Linked DNA regions of Homo sapiens: regions 1, 2 and 4 are each linked to region 3. The links are contacts of gene promoters, found by promoter capture Hi-C in blood cells and fetal thymus (Javierre and others, 2016). All regions are on one chromosome and are shown on one strand. The core of a region is centred on a gene start or on the middle of the fragment in contact, and the rest is flanking DNA. Distances in the headings are between cores, read along the strand shown.

Evidence for each region. The method cuts DNA at HindIII sites, captures the fragments that hold promoters and counts their contacts. A CHiCAGO score of 5 or more calls a contact.
Region 1: a contact is called between the fragment with the promoter of CAMLG here and the fragment with the promoter of PPP2CA in region 3, in 11 of 17 cell types (activated CD4 T cells, naive CD8 T cells, neutrophils and 8 more). The highest score is 9.8, in activated CD4 T cells.
Region 2: a fragment that was not itself captured here is called in contact with the fragment with the promoter of PPP2CA in region 3 in 1 of 17 cell types (neutrophils); the score reaches 5.0 in neutrophils.
Region 4: a fragment that was not itself captured here is called in contact with the fragment with the promoter of PPP2CA in region 3 in 1 of 17 cell types (fetal thymus); the score reaches 5.5 in fetal thymus.

The regions. Positions count from the first base shown.
Region 1 is chr5:134,737,196-134,739,895 of GRCh38, forward strand. It overlaps CAMLG (calcium modulating ligand), which reads left to right and starts at 1,353. Exons shown (of 4, transcript NM_001745.4): 1 at 1,353-1,597. The coding sequence starts at 1,426. RefSeq lists an enhancer at 941-990. The HindIII fragment of the contact is 13,475 bases long and covers 1-2,700 here.
Region 2 is chr5:134,908,776-134,911,475 of GRCh38, forward strand. It overlaps PCBD2 (pterin-4 alpha-carbinolamine dehydratase 2), which reads left to right. Exons shown (of 4, transcript NM_032151.5): 2 at 1,560-1,691. Among named protein-coding and RNA genes, the nearest start is that of PCBD2, 5.0 kb to the left of the region's middle. The HindIII fragment of the contact is 3,581 bases long and covers 1-2,700 here.
Region 3 is chr5:134,224,812-134,227,511 of GRCh38, forward strand. It overlaps PPP2CA (protein phosphatase 2 catalytic subunit alpha), which reads right to left and starts at 1,262. Exons shown (of 7, transcript NM_002715.4): 1 at 949-1,262. The coding sequence starts at 1,050. It overlaps MIR3661 (microRNA 3661), which reads left to right and starts at 946; the gene lies at 946-1,041. PPP2CA-DT (PPP2CA divergent transcript) reads left to right here and starts at 1,599. Exons shown (of 1, transcript NR_186539.1): 1 at 1,599-2,700. RefSeq lists enhancers at 552-661, 1,001-1,520, 1,521-2,042, 2,042-2,201, 2,043-2,562. The HindIII fragment of the contact is 2,287 bases long and covers 185-2,471 here.
Region 4 is chr5:134,813,046-134,815,804 of GRCh38, forward strand. All of the region lies in intron 18 of DDX46 (DEAD-box helicase 46), which reads left to right. Among named protein-coding and RNA genes, the nearest start is that of C5orf24, 32 kb to the right of the region's middle. The HindIII fragment of the contact is 1,731 bases long and covers 507-2,237 here.

The DNA of each region.
Region 1 (2,700 bases), core at 103-2,602, 510 kb after region 3:
CCCAGTCATTTGTTCTGATTTTATTTTATTTATTTCTTTTATATATGTATTTTTGAGACGGAGTCTCCCTCTGTCGCCCAGGCTGGAGTGCAGTGGCATGATCTCGGCTCACTGCAATTTCTGCCTCCCAGGTTCAAGCGATTCTCCTGCCTCAGCCTCCCAAGTAGCTGGGATTACAGGTGCATGCCACCAGGTCAGGCTAATTTTTGTATTTTTAGTAGAGACGGGGTTTTGCCATATTGGCCAGGCTGGTCTCGAACTCCTGACCTCAGGTGATCCGCCTGCCTCGGCCTCCCAAAGTTAGGATTACAGACGTGAGCCACCGCTCCCGGCCTTTTTGTTTTTTTCTTTTCTTTTCCTTTTTTTTTTTTGAGACGGAGTCTCGTTCTGTCGCCCAGGCTGGAGCATCTTTAGCATGCGAGGTGGTCATGAACGACAAGGAGAAAAAACAAGGTGAAGGGGAATGGGGAGTGTTGGCAATTTAGATAGAATGTGCACGAAAGGTTTCAATGGGAAATTCTAATTTGAATAAAAACGCACAAAACGCGAGGAAAGCCTAGGAACACATCAGCCGTATACTTTGCCGTAGAGAAGTTAAGGATGAGGAACAGGCACCAAGAACAAATCCCAGCGTAAGGCTCCCTTTAAGTGCGGCTCCCAGGGTTACGTATTCCCATTGCCTACAGGCGAGGCCGCGGGTCTGTAAACAAGCGACTGCCGCTGCAACCTCCATTTTGCTTCCTGGCACCAAATCTAGGCTGACCTACTTACTGCCATCCCTTTCCCACTCCCGGTTTTCTTTTCTTTCTTTTTTTTTTTCTCGAGACAGAGTCTCGCTCTGTAGCCCAGGCTGGAGAACAGTGGCGCGATCTCGGCTCACTGCAACCTCCGCCTCCTGGGTCCAAGAGATTCTCCTGCCTCAGCCTCCCGAGTAGCTGGGATTACAGGCGCGCGCCACCCCGCCCGGCTAAGTTTTTGTATTTTTAGTAGAGACGGGTGGGGGGAGGGGGGAGGGGGTCACCATGTTGGCCAGGCTACTCTCGAAATCGTGACCTCGTGATCCGCCCGCCTCGGCCTTCCAAAGTGCTAGGATTACAGGCGTGAGCCACCACTCCCGGCCCTGGGTGCTGGTTTTCTTCACCTCCGAGTGAACAGCAGAGGGGGCTGTTGGGTGAGGGCCAGAAGAGTTGGGGAGGCACGAGGGCGTCCAGCGCTGCCCTCACTCAAGATGGCGGCCAGAGCCTCGCGCTTGGTCGCGTGGGGCGGTGCGTGAGTGCTTAGCTCACAGGCTCCGGGACCGCGCTCGGGGGCGGGTCTATAGTGGGAAGGGGACGCGCGCCCTGCGGCCCGGCCTCTAGTCATCGCCCTCGCAGCGGCGGCCAACATCACCGCCACTGCCACCCCTCCCAGACTGTGGACGGGAGGATGGAGTCGATGGCCGTCGCTACCGACGGCGGGGAGAGGCCGGGGGTCCCAGCGGGCTCAGGTCTGTCGGCTTCCCAGCGTCGGGCGGAGCTGCGTCGGAGAAAGCTGCTCATGAACTCGGAACAGCGCATCAACCGGATCATGGGCTTTCACAGGCCCGGGAGCGGCGCGGGTAAGAGCCTCGATTTCCCCTCAGTCTCCCGCCCATCACCTTGAATCTTCAGGGTCATTCTTCCCTCTCCCACCTCCACTCCTCTGACCTTTTTGACCAAGCCTTGCTCTTTGATTTCCTCTCTGTCCCGCCCCTTCGGTGATATCCCAAGTTCTCATCCCTGAACCCCAGGATGTTCCTAGTCGCTCCCCTCAATTTTCCCGGGGCCTCGCCGTGAGATTTTCCCCACCCTGCCTGCAGAGCTCTCACTCCCTCTTCCCAGTTACGTTGAACAGCCCCTTTTTTCCTTAGCCACTCCTCGCCTTTCTTGAAGGGCGCACGTTGTATCCCCAGACTGTCATGTCTACTGCTCCCCTTAGGAAGATGGCTTTCCTTCTTAAGGTTCCAAGTGCTTTTCCTTACAGTGCCTTCTCTAGCGTCTACCTTCTTTTGCCTTTTGCTGTGTAACTCCTGTCCGCCCACATCAGCCTGTCTTTACTGAACTGCCCGCTAGTTCATCCTACGTGTATCAGGGACTCTTGTGCTCATATCCTAGTGTTTGTGTTCAGTGCCGTCAACACTGTCACCTACGGGCCGGCTAGAAAAGGTGGGAAAAGTGAGAGTGAGCATTCTTCAGAGACCCAGCAAGTGCGAAGTGCACACCTGAGAGTTTCCTCTCCTCATGAGGGGATATTGTTGTGATTGATGTCTGGAGCTGCATTTCTAAGGAGAGCGCCTCCTTCCTCCCCCAAACACATGTCCAATGATTTTCTTTAAAAAAAATTTATTTCACGTGAGTATAATTGAGCAATTAGCGCGCCCTAGTGTTATCTAAGTTTCCAGTGTTTCCTTTAGTAATTGGCCTTTAGTCACTGGTCGCAAGCTCCTTATATCTTTGTGACTTTTGTTCTGTAAGGCTTTAGGTGTATAGCTCTGAACTTTTAGGCAGTTCAAATGAGAGGTAAGAAAACCATTTCAAATTCTTCTAGAACAATAGAAGAAACATTTTTCTATCGGGCTATTTATTCTTAAAGCATTATTTATGATCTTACCTGAGGTACTTTCTATATTTTGTTCTTTTGCTTTGAAAATTTTATGTCTTTAAAGGTTGTTTTATTTTTTGA
Region 2 (2,700 bases), core at 110-2,609, 680 kb after region 3:
TCTTCATAGAAAAAGTTGTCTAAAGGTAAAATCTTTTTCCTCTCTTAATATTAGTGATAAATGATTTTGGGATTTCTGAAGTGGGAGTGAGTTGCAGCTTAATGGCAGAGAATCCAGGGAATGCAGCTTAGCCCACAGTTGCCCTTTGATGAGGAGCCTTCACTAATGTTCATCTTTCTGGGTGACAGCCTCTCTCTCACCTGAGCCTACAGTAACTCTGCAAGTAGGTAAGGCAAGAAGTATTGCCTGGAATGAGAACCCTGCTTTCCTGACTTCTAGTCAAGTGTCCATATCTTCTCTCTGGCCCTGATGTTTAAAGTTATTTCAGTTAAAAAACCAATAGCATGGGAAGTGTGGGCCTGTTAACCAACAGAACCTGGCTTTGTGAATGTCATCCCCAGGATGCGTAGAAACAGGCCAGACAGTGCACACAAGTGCTTTGGACTGGGCAGTACTCTGGCCAAACTATGGAGAGAGTTTGTCTGACTGGTGCTCTGAGAAGAGGGCTTCATAAACCCACCCCACTGAGGCCAGGGCTTTTTACCTGTAGTCCAGAGGATCTGTGGACCCCCAGAAGTTAGATAAAATCCTATGTAAATGTGCATTTGTTTTTCCCCATCCGGGGATTGGTTTTCATTAGATGTGACAGGAGATGGTAATTCCAAATAGTTAAAACCATCTTTCATTCCTTTGTTCTCAAAAGACAGACCAAAACAAGGCTGGCTCTGTACAAAATAAGCTGTCTCTATGGTATGTTCCCTCTGGCCCCCTTACTGCTGCCTCAAACGTCACAGTTCAGCTTCTCTGGCTTATTAGAGATATAACAGAGAGTAGTGAAGGCTACTGAGGTGATGTAGGGCCATCCAAAGAGCAATAGACCAGGAGTTTGGAGCCTTGAATTTTAATTCTGGTCCTGCCAATAGACTTGCCACAAGTCCTAGAATTCTGCAGTGTCCAAGATGGCCGGTGGTAATAGTCAATCTTTGTTGTATCTGTAATAAACCACAGAAGGGCCGGGCGCAGTCACTCATGCCTGTAATTCCAGCACTTTGGGAGGTCCAGGTGGGCAGATCACTTGAGCTCAGGAATTCAAGGCCAGCCTGAGCAACATGGTGAAAATCCCTCTCTACCAAAAATACAAAAAATTAGTTGGGTGTGGTGGTGTGCACCTGTAGTCCCAGCTACTTGGGAGGCTGAGGTGGGAGGATCATTTGAGCCCAGGAGGCGGAGGTTGCAGTGAGCTGTGATTGCACCACTACGCTCCAGCCTGGGCGACAGAGCGAGACCCTGTCTCGAAACAACCAACCAACCAACCAGAGAAGCTGAATTGTGAAGTTTGAGGCAGCAGTAAGGGAGCCAGAGGTGACATGCCATGGAGGCAGCTTATTTTGCACAGAGCTAGCCTTGCTTTGGTCTCTTTAAGAGAACAAAGGAATGAAAGATGGTTAGAATTTGTTGCCTTTCAGACTTTTCTACATCTCTGCTTAAGGTAAGGAGCCATAAGTTTGAGTTTGAGTAAACTTGTACATTTTCAGATATGAAATGTGTTCTCTTCATAGTCATCAGGTACTCACAGGTTGACTGCAGAGGAGAGGAACCAAGCTATACTTGACCTTAAAGCAGCAGGATGGTCGGAATTAAGTGAGAGAGATGCCATCTACAAAGAATTCTCCTTCCACAATTTTAATCAGGTAATTGTTATAAATTCTTGCTAGGGCTGTGGTCTATTTTAGTCACCTTAGGCCATAACACTTTCTGATTCTGCCAGTTGTCTGGTCCCATGTAGATCTAGGATTCAACTCTTCCCTTCTTTAAGAATTCAGTGATAGAGTGACATCCTTGTTGACAGTTGCTACCACCCACCTGGGTGGTGTTTAGCTCTGGGGGAAGAGGGTGGTTTGTGTTACTTGGAAAACAAATTCTGAAACCACTATTGCTTTGGTATGGTGTTGGTTAGGATATGTAGTTTCTTTTGAAATTTCAAATAACATTAAAAGAGAGTGTAAGCCTTTTATTATTGATTATTATTTTTTGAGACAGGGTCTTGCTCTGTTGCCCAGGCTGGAGTACAGTGGTATGATTGTGGCTTACTGCTGCCTCGACCTCCTGGGCTCAGGTGATCCTCCCACCTTAGCCTCCTGAGTAGCTGGGACTACAGGCATGTGCCATGCCCAGCTAATTTTTGCATTGTTTGGAGAGGCAGGGTCTGGCTATGTTGCCCAGACTGGTCTCAAATTCCTGGCCTCAAGCGATCCTCCTGCCTTGGCCTCCCAATGTGCTGGGAATAGAGATATGAGCCACTGTGCCCAGCCTGAGCTTTTTATACTTATCAGAAAGGGGCATGAATAAAACTGGTTGAGGAAGATGTACCTGCTTGACTTATTTTCCCTGACTTTTTCTGGGCCGTTGGTAATTTTTCTTTCTTCCTGCAGTTAAATTTCTATCTCTCAGTCATCTCCCAGGCTGCACCCTTTTCCCTGACTGGCTTATTTTTCTCCAGCCCAGTAGCCAGATCCTGAACCTTTTCTTAAAACCTGACCTCCCCCTTGGAAGTCAGCTTTAACAAGGTAACTGTTCCATTAGGGACCCACCCTGTTTAGAGAGTCATCTCCCATGACTTAACCTTCAGTTATTACACCACTGCATTTGTAAAAGGTAAATGCTTTTGACTATTTTGTTTGTTCAGTTAGTTTGGTAATC
Region 3 (2,700 bases), core at 12-2,511:
GACATTATTTAAACACTAAGCACAATGTCTGGAATACAATCTCAGTCGACAGTTATTATCACTACTACTACTTGCAGCCACAAAATACTATCAAGTAATTTTTGCAACAAAGATACAAAATTTACCGCTCTTCCATTTTATGTTGTTCATTTTAAAAATAAACGGCAAAATGCCAAGTGTGTTAAGCTTAGAGAAGGCTTTGAGTCAGCATATAAATCATATTCAACCGACACTTGATTTCCAATCCAAAAGCTCCTTATGTAGTATGACTCACCAAATTCCCGATTTCTTCCAACTATGAAAAATAAGTTACACTCCTCCCTTATAGCTACCACCATGACCTTCGTAAAAATTAGGTTAAGAGAATAATTTAAAAATTCTTAAAGACACCCCTTACCTTGATTTCTGGAGAAGATCGCTTGGTGAGTTTAATACAAACCACCAAGGGGTACTAAAGCTGTGTGACCTTTAGGTATGTTCTGGGATACGGCCTAACAAGACTGCCTTTGGGGGATCCTCTGGGCAGCTCTGGACCTAACTAGGCCTGGGTACCAGCGGCAAGACTCTTACTCAGCCCACCGGAGAGGCCCAGGCTCCATTCCCAAGCCGCAGAATCCAAGCCAGCTCACCCTCAAAACCGTCCCTGACGATGACCCACAGGGTCTCCGCTCCCCCTGCCACCTCGTCTGGCGCCAAGGCCGGCTGACTCAAAAGCCCAGGAGTCGAGTGAACGGCGCCATTTTAGGCGGCGGCGGCAACCAATCCCTGCGCGGGAGGCAGGGGGCGCCGGGTCGTTAGGAAGCCGCCGCCGGCCAGGATGGGCGCCGGTCTCGGAGACTCGGGGGGCCCGGACCGGCGGCCTCCGCCATGTTGCACCCTCCTCACGGCCGCCTTTTCCTCGGCGGGCTCGGCCCCGCGGCGGCTGTCCGCAGCCGTACTACAGCTCACCTTCTCGCAGAGGCTCTTGACCTGGGACTCGGACAGCTGCTTGCACTCGTTCAGCTGCTCGATCCACTGGTCCAGCTCCTTGGTGAACACCTTCTCGTCCATGATGCCACCCGCCCCAGCCGGCTGCCGCTCCGCGCTGCTCCCGCGCCGCCGCCCGCACACGGGCCTACACGCACACGCCGCCGCCGGTTCCTCGTGTACTTCTGGCGGCTGTTGAGGCTGGCGCTGGCCCGCTGGCTCTCACCGCAGTACTCGGCCGTCGGCCGCTGCGCCTCCTCCTCCGCTCGCTGAGGCTCCAGAGCTCGGCTCTCTGTAATGGCGGCCGCCGGGCGTGGTGACGTCACGCCCGGCGTCAGGAGGCGGCGGGGAGCGGAGGGGAAAAGGGCCGGGGAGCAAGCTGCGCAACTGCAGAGCCCTCCCCGGGCGGCCGCACGACCGGAGTTGGGGCGCAAACTGGGGGTCAAAGCGCAGGCGCGACGTAGCCGGCTGGTAACTGAAGCGCCTTGACTTTTTGGGCGTGGCTCCCGGAGGGCGGGGTGGTGGGGGAAGGGAAGGATGGAGCTGGAGCATGCGCAGTGCGCACAGCGGCGAACCGGACTAATCCCTGAGCACTATTCCAGGAGAGGCGAGGGCTTGGGCCGCGCGCAGGCGCAGACCGGATGGAAGCCGGGGCCACTGGCAGCCTGTAACTGGTTCCCCTGGGAAGGCCGCTCTGGTGATGAACTCAGCTCCTCACCTGGGGCCTGGCAGTCCGATCACGGAAACGAGAATTGCGACCCCGTGGCTCATCTGGGGTGCTGCGGCTCTGTAATCGTGTGGGTTTCCGTCATCTTTGGGGGCAGGAACGGGCAGCGAGTGGCCGCTTGGATTAACCACCCCCACCTCTGGGCGCGGCTGGCACCTTGTAATTAGGTCACTCGTAGGTGGAGGAGCGTGTACCTACCGGGGGAGTGCTGCGCAGTGCACCTGACTTCCGCGGCACACACCCGTCCCCGGACCTAGGTGTCTCGTCGGGCGCGATGGCGGGGGCGAGGCTTGGGCTTTTCTTTGGGCCTCGGACCGCGGCTCGCTTCCACGCGCCCCGCTCCTCGCCGGTGGTTGCTTTCCTCCAAGTTTAATTCTCTCTGGGAATGAGAGACCCTCAACCCCTGCGCGCCCTGGCCTACTTTCAAGAGGGGAAGCCCAGAGAAGATGGATGCACCTGTCCTGACCGCGTCTCGGTGGCGTGAGAAGCAGCTGTGATACGTGCTTAAAAGAGAGAGCTCGTATACCCTAGGATTGGACCTCTGTCTGGTTATGAATCGCTTTGGAGTTTGCGAAACGTTTTCACATTCCATTGTCCCTGCTTTTACATAAATATCTGGTTCCATAGAGCGCCAGCTATATGCCAGATCCGGAGGGGTCATCCAGACGGACCAGGGACCATGCCCTGGAGCTTGTATTCTCCCAACAGTACTGGCTGAAGATGGTTTGGGATAGGCAGAAGAGAGATCATAATGCCCCCAGGATTTGAAAGATATAGAAGCTTTCCAAAGAACATTTAACCATAAAGGGCAAGGCAAGAGCTGAACCTGATCGCCTGTCTTCCAGGAACCCCACCCTCAGTATCAGGCAACCCTTCCACACCCAAGTGCTCAGCGATGCTTGGGAGGAGACTGCTCACTCTGCGGCTCTGAGGGCATCATCCCCACCAACAGGCTGAAGAAGGCACTGGAGGCCCCATCAGCCAATAGCAGGACTGAAAATCCTCCT
Region 4 (2,759 bases), core at 122-2,621, 590 kb after region 3:
GTTCTCCTGCCTCAGACTCCCAAGTAACTGGAACGACAGGCACGCGCCACCATGCTTGGCTAATTTTTTTTGTATTTTTACTAGAGACAGGGTTTCACCATGTTGGCCAGGATGATCTTGATCTCTTGACTTCGTGATCCGCCTGCCTCGGCCTCCCAAAGTGCTCAGATTACAGGCGTGAGCCACCACGCCCGACCACATTTCATTTTTTAAATTTATCTGTTACCATGTAACAAATCAAAACTTAGCAGGTTAAAGCAATAAACACTTATTATCACATAGTTCCTTATGGTCAGGAAATCAGGAGCAGTTTAGTCAGGTAGTTCTGGCTTAGGCGCTCGTGAGATTGCAGTCATCTGCAGGCTTGACTGTTGCTGGATGATCTGCTTCCAACATCAGTCACTTTGATGTAGATAGGATGCCTCAGTTCTTCACCTCTTTGCCTGTCCTTACCCACATGGCAGCTGGCTTTCCCCACAGTGAGTGATCAAAGAGAGCAAAGAGAAAGCTTTAGTGCTTTTTATGACTGTCTCTGAAATTACACACTGTCACTTCCACTTTATTCTTTATGGGGTTTTTTTTGTCTTGTTTTGTTTTGTTTTGGAAACAGAGTCTGACTCTGTTGCCCAAACTGGAGTGTAGTGGTGCGAACTCAACTCACTGCTGCCTCAGCGATCTTCCCACCTCAGCCTCTTGAGTAGCTGGTACTATGGGTGCACCACCATGCCCTGTTAATATATATTTTAAAATGTTTTTTTTTTTAGAGTCGAGGTCTCACTGTGTTGCCTAGGTTGGTCTGAAATTCCTGGGCTCAAGTGATCCTCCTGCCTCAGCCTCCCAAAGTGATGGTATTACAAACATGAGCCACCATGCCCAGCCCACTTTCTTCTATTAGAAGGAAGTCATTAAGTCCAGCCCACACTCAAGAAAAAAGACTATTAAATAATTTGTAGCCATGTTTTAAAAACATCTGTCACTTTTTGACATTATGGTAGTTTCCTCTTTTCTGTGGTTTTAGTTGCCATAGGTTAACCACAGTCTGAAACTATTACAGTATTTTGAGACCACATTCATATAACTTTTATTACAGTATATTGCTATAATTGTCCTATTTTATTGTTGTTAATCTCTTAACTGTACCTAATTTATAAATTAAACTTTATCATAGGTATGTATGTATAGGAAAAAACAGTGTATGTCGGTGCGGTACTATCTCTGTTTTTAGGCATTCACTGGGGTTCTTGGAATGTATTCCATGTGTAAAGGGAAAACTGCAGTATTTTTAACTGTTTTTTAAAATCTTGTGATAAAATACGGTGATTGTTTCTTCGGGTGTTAAAGTAATATATAATTTTATGAAAAATGTAAACAGTACTTAACACGAATAAAATCAAAAGTAAGGTTAGCTCTACCAGCTAGCATTGTATACTTCCCCCTTTCCTGATTTTATGAATTTGTTCAGATTGTAATACCATGAATGCTATTTAATTTAAAACGGTTTTACTCAGGTAAATGTTGAGTTTTAAAACTAGTTGATAACTGACCCCCTGTTGGTGTTTTCTTGGGGTTTTGTTTTGTTTTGTTTTTATGAGACAGGATCTCACTCCATCAACCAGGCTGGAGTAAAGTGGCGTGATCTTGGCTCACTGTAGCCTCGACCTCCTGGGCTCAGGTGATTCCCCACCTCAGCCTTCTGAATATCTGGGACTACAGGCATGTGCCACCATGCCTGGGTAACTTTTATATTTTTTGTAGAGACAAGGTTTCGCCATGTTGCCCAGGCTGGTCTTGAACTCCTGGGCTCAAGTAATCCTCCTGCCTTGAACTCTCAAAATGCTGGGATTATAGGCAGGAGCCACTGTGCGTGGCCATAACTAAAACCCTTTAATAGGTAATAAATGTTTTAAGAAGAATCTAAGGCTGGGTGTGGTGGCTCATGGCCTGTAATCCCAACACTTTGGAAGGCCATGGTGGGAGGATAGCTTGAGCCCAGGAGTTCAAGACCCTCCTAGACAACACAGTGAGACCCCATCTCTATAAAAAGGTTTTTAAAAATTAGCTGGACGTGCTAGTGCACGCTGTGGTCCTAGCTACTTGGGAGGCCGAGATATGAGGAACCCTTGAGCCTGGGAGTTAAAGGCGACCCTGTCTCAAAAAAATACAAAAGCTAAACGGACTGTTTTTATTGTAGTAAAAGAGCTTTGTAAATTAACCAATTAATTTTTAAGCCCTAAATAAGCTTTTCTGTGCATTTGAGATCTAGAAGATACAGCTTTATTAATCTGATCTAAATTTCTGAAGGGGGCTTGTATTTCTGTAATCAGTGATATCAGTAGTCACTGTTGGGCAAAGGGCATTTTTTAAAAGAAATGCACATAGCAGGCTGGCGGTGGTGGCTCATGCCTGTAATCCCAGTGCTTTGGGAGGCCAAGGTGGGCGGATCACGAGGTCAGGAGATGAGACCATCCTGCCTAACACGGTGAAACCCCATCTCAACTAAAAATACAAAAAATTAGCCAGGTGTGGTGGCGGGCACCTGTAGTCCCAGCTACTCAGGAGGCTGAGGCAGAAGAATGGCGTGAACCTGGGAGGCGGATCTTGCAGTGAGCTGAGATGGCGCCATTGCACTCCAGCCTGGGAGACAGAGCGAGACTCTGTCTCAAAAAAAAAAAAAAAAAAAAAAAAAAGAAATGCACCTAGCAGTAGGGCTCATGTGACTCCTGTCAAAGCAAAGCATTCATCATTGCGCTTGCCTTGAT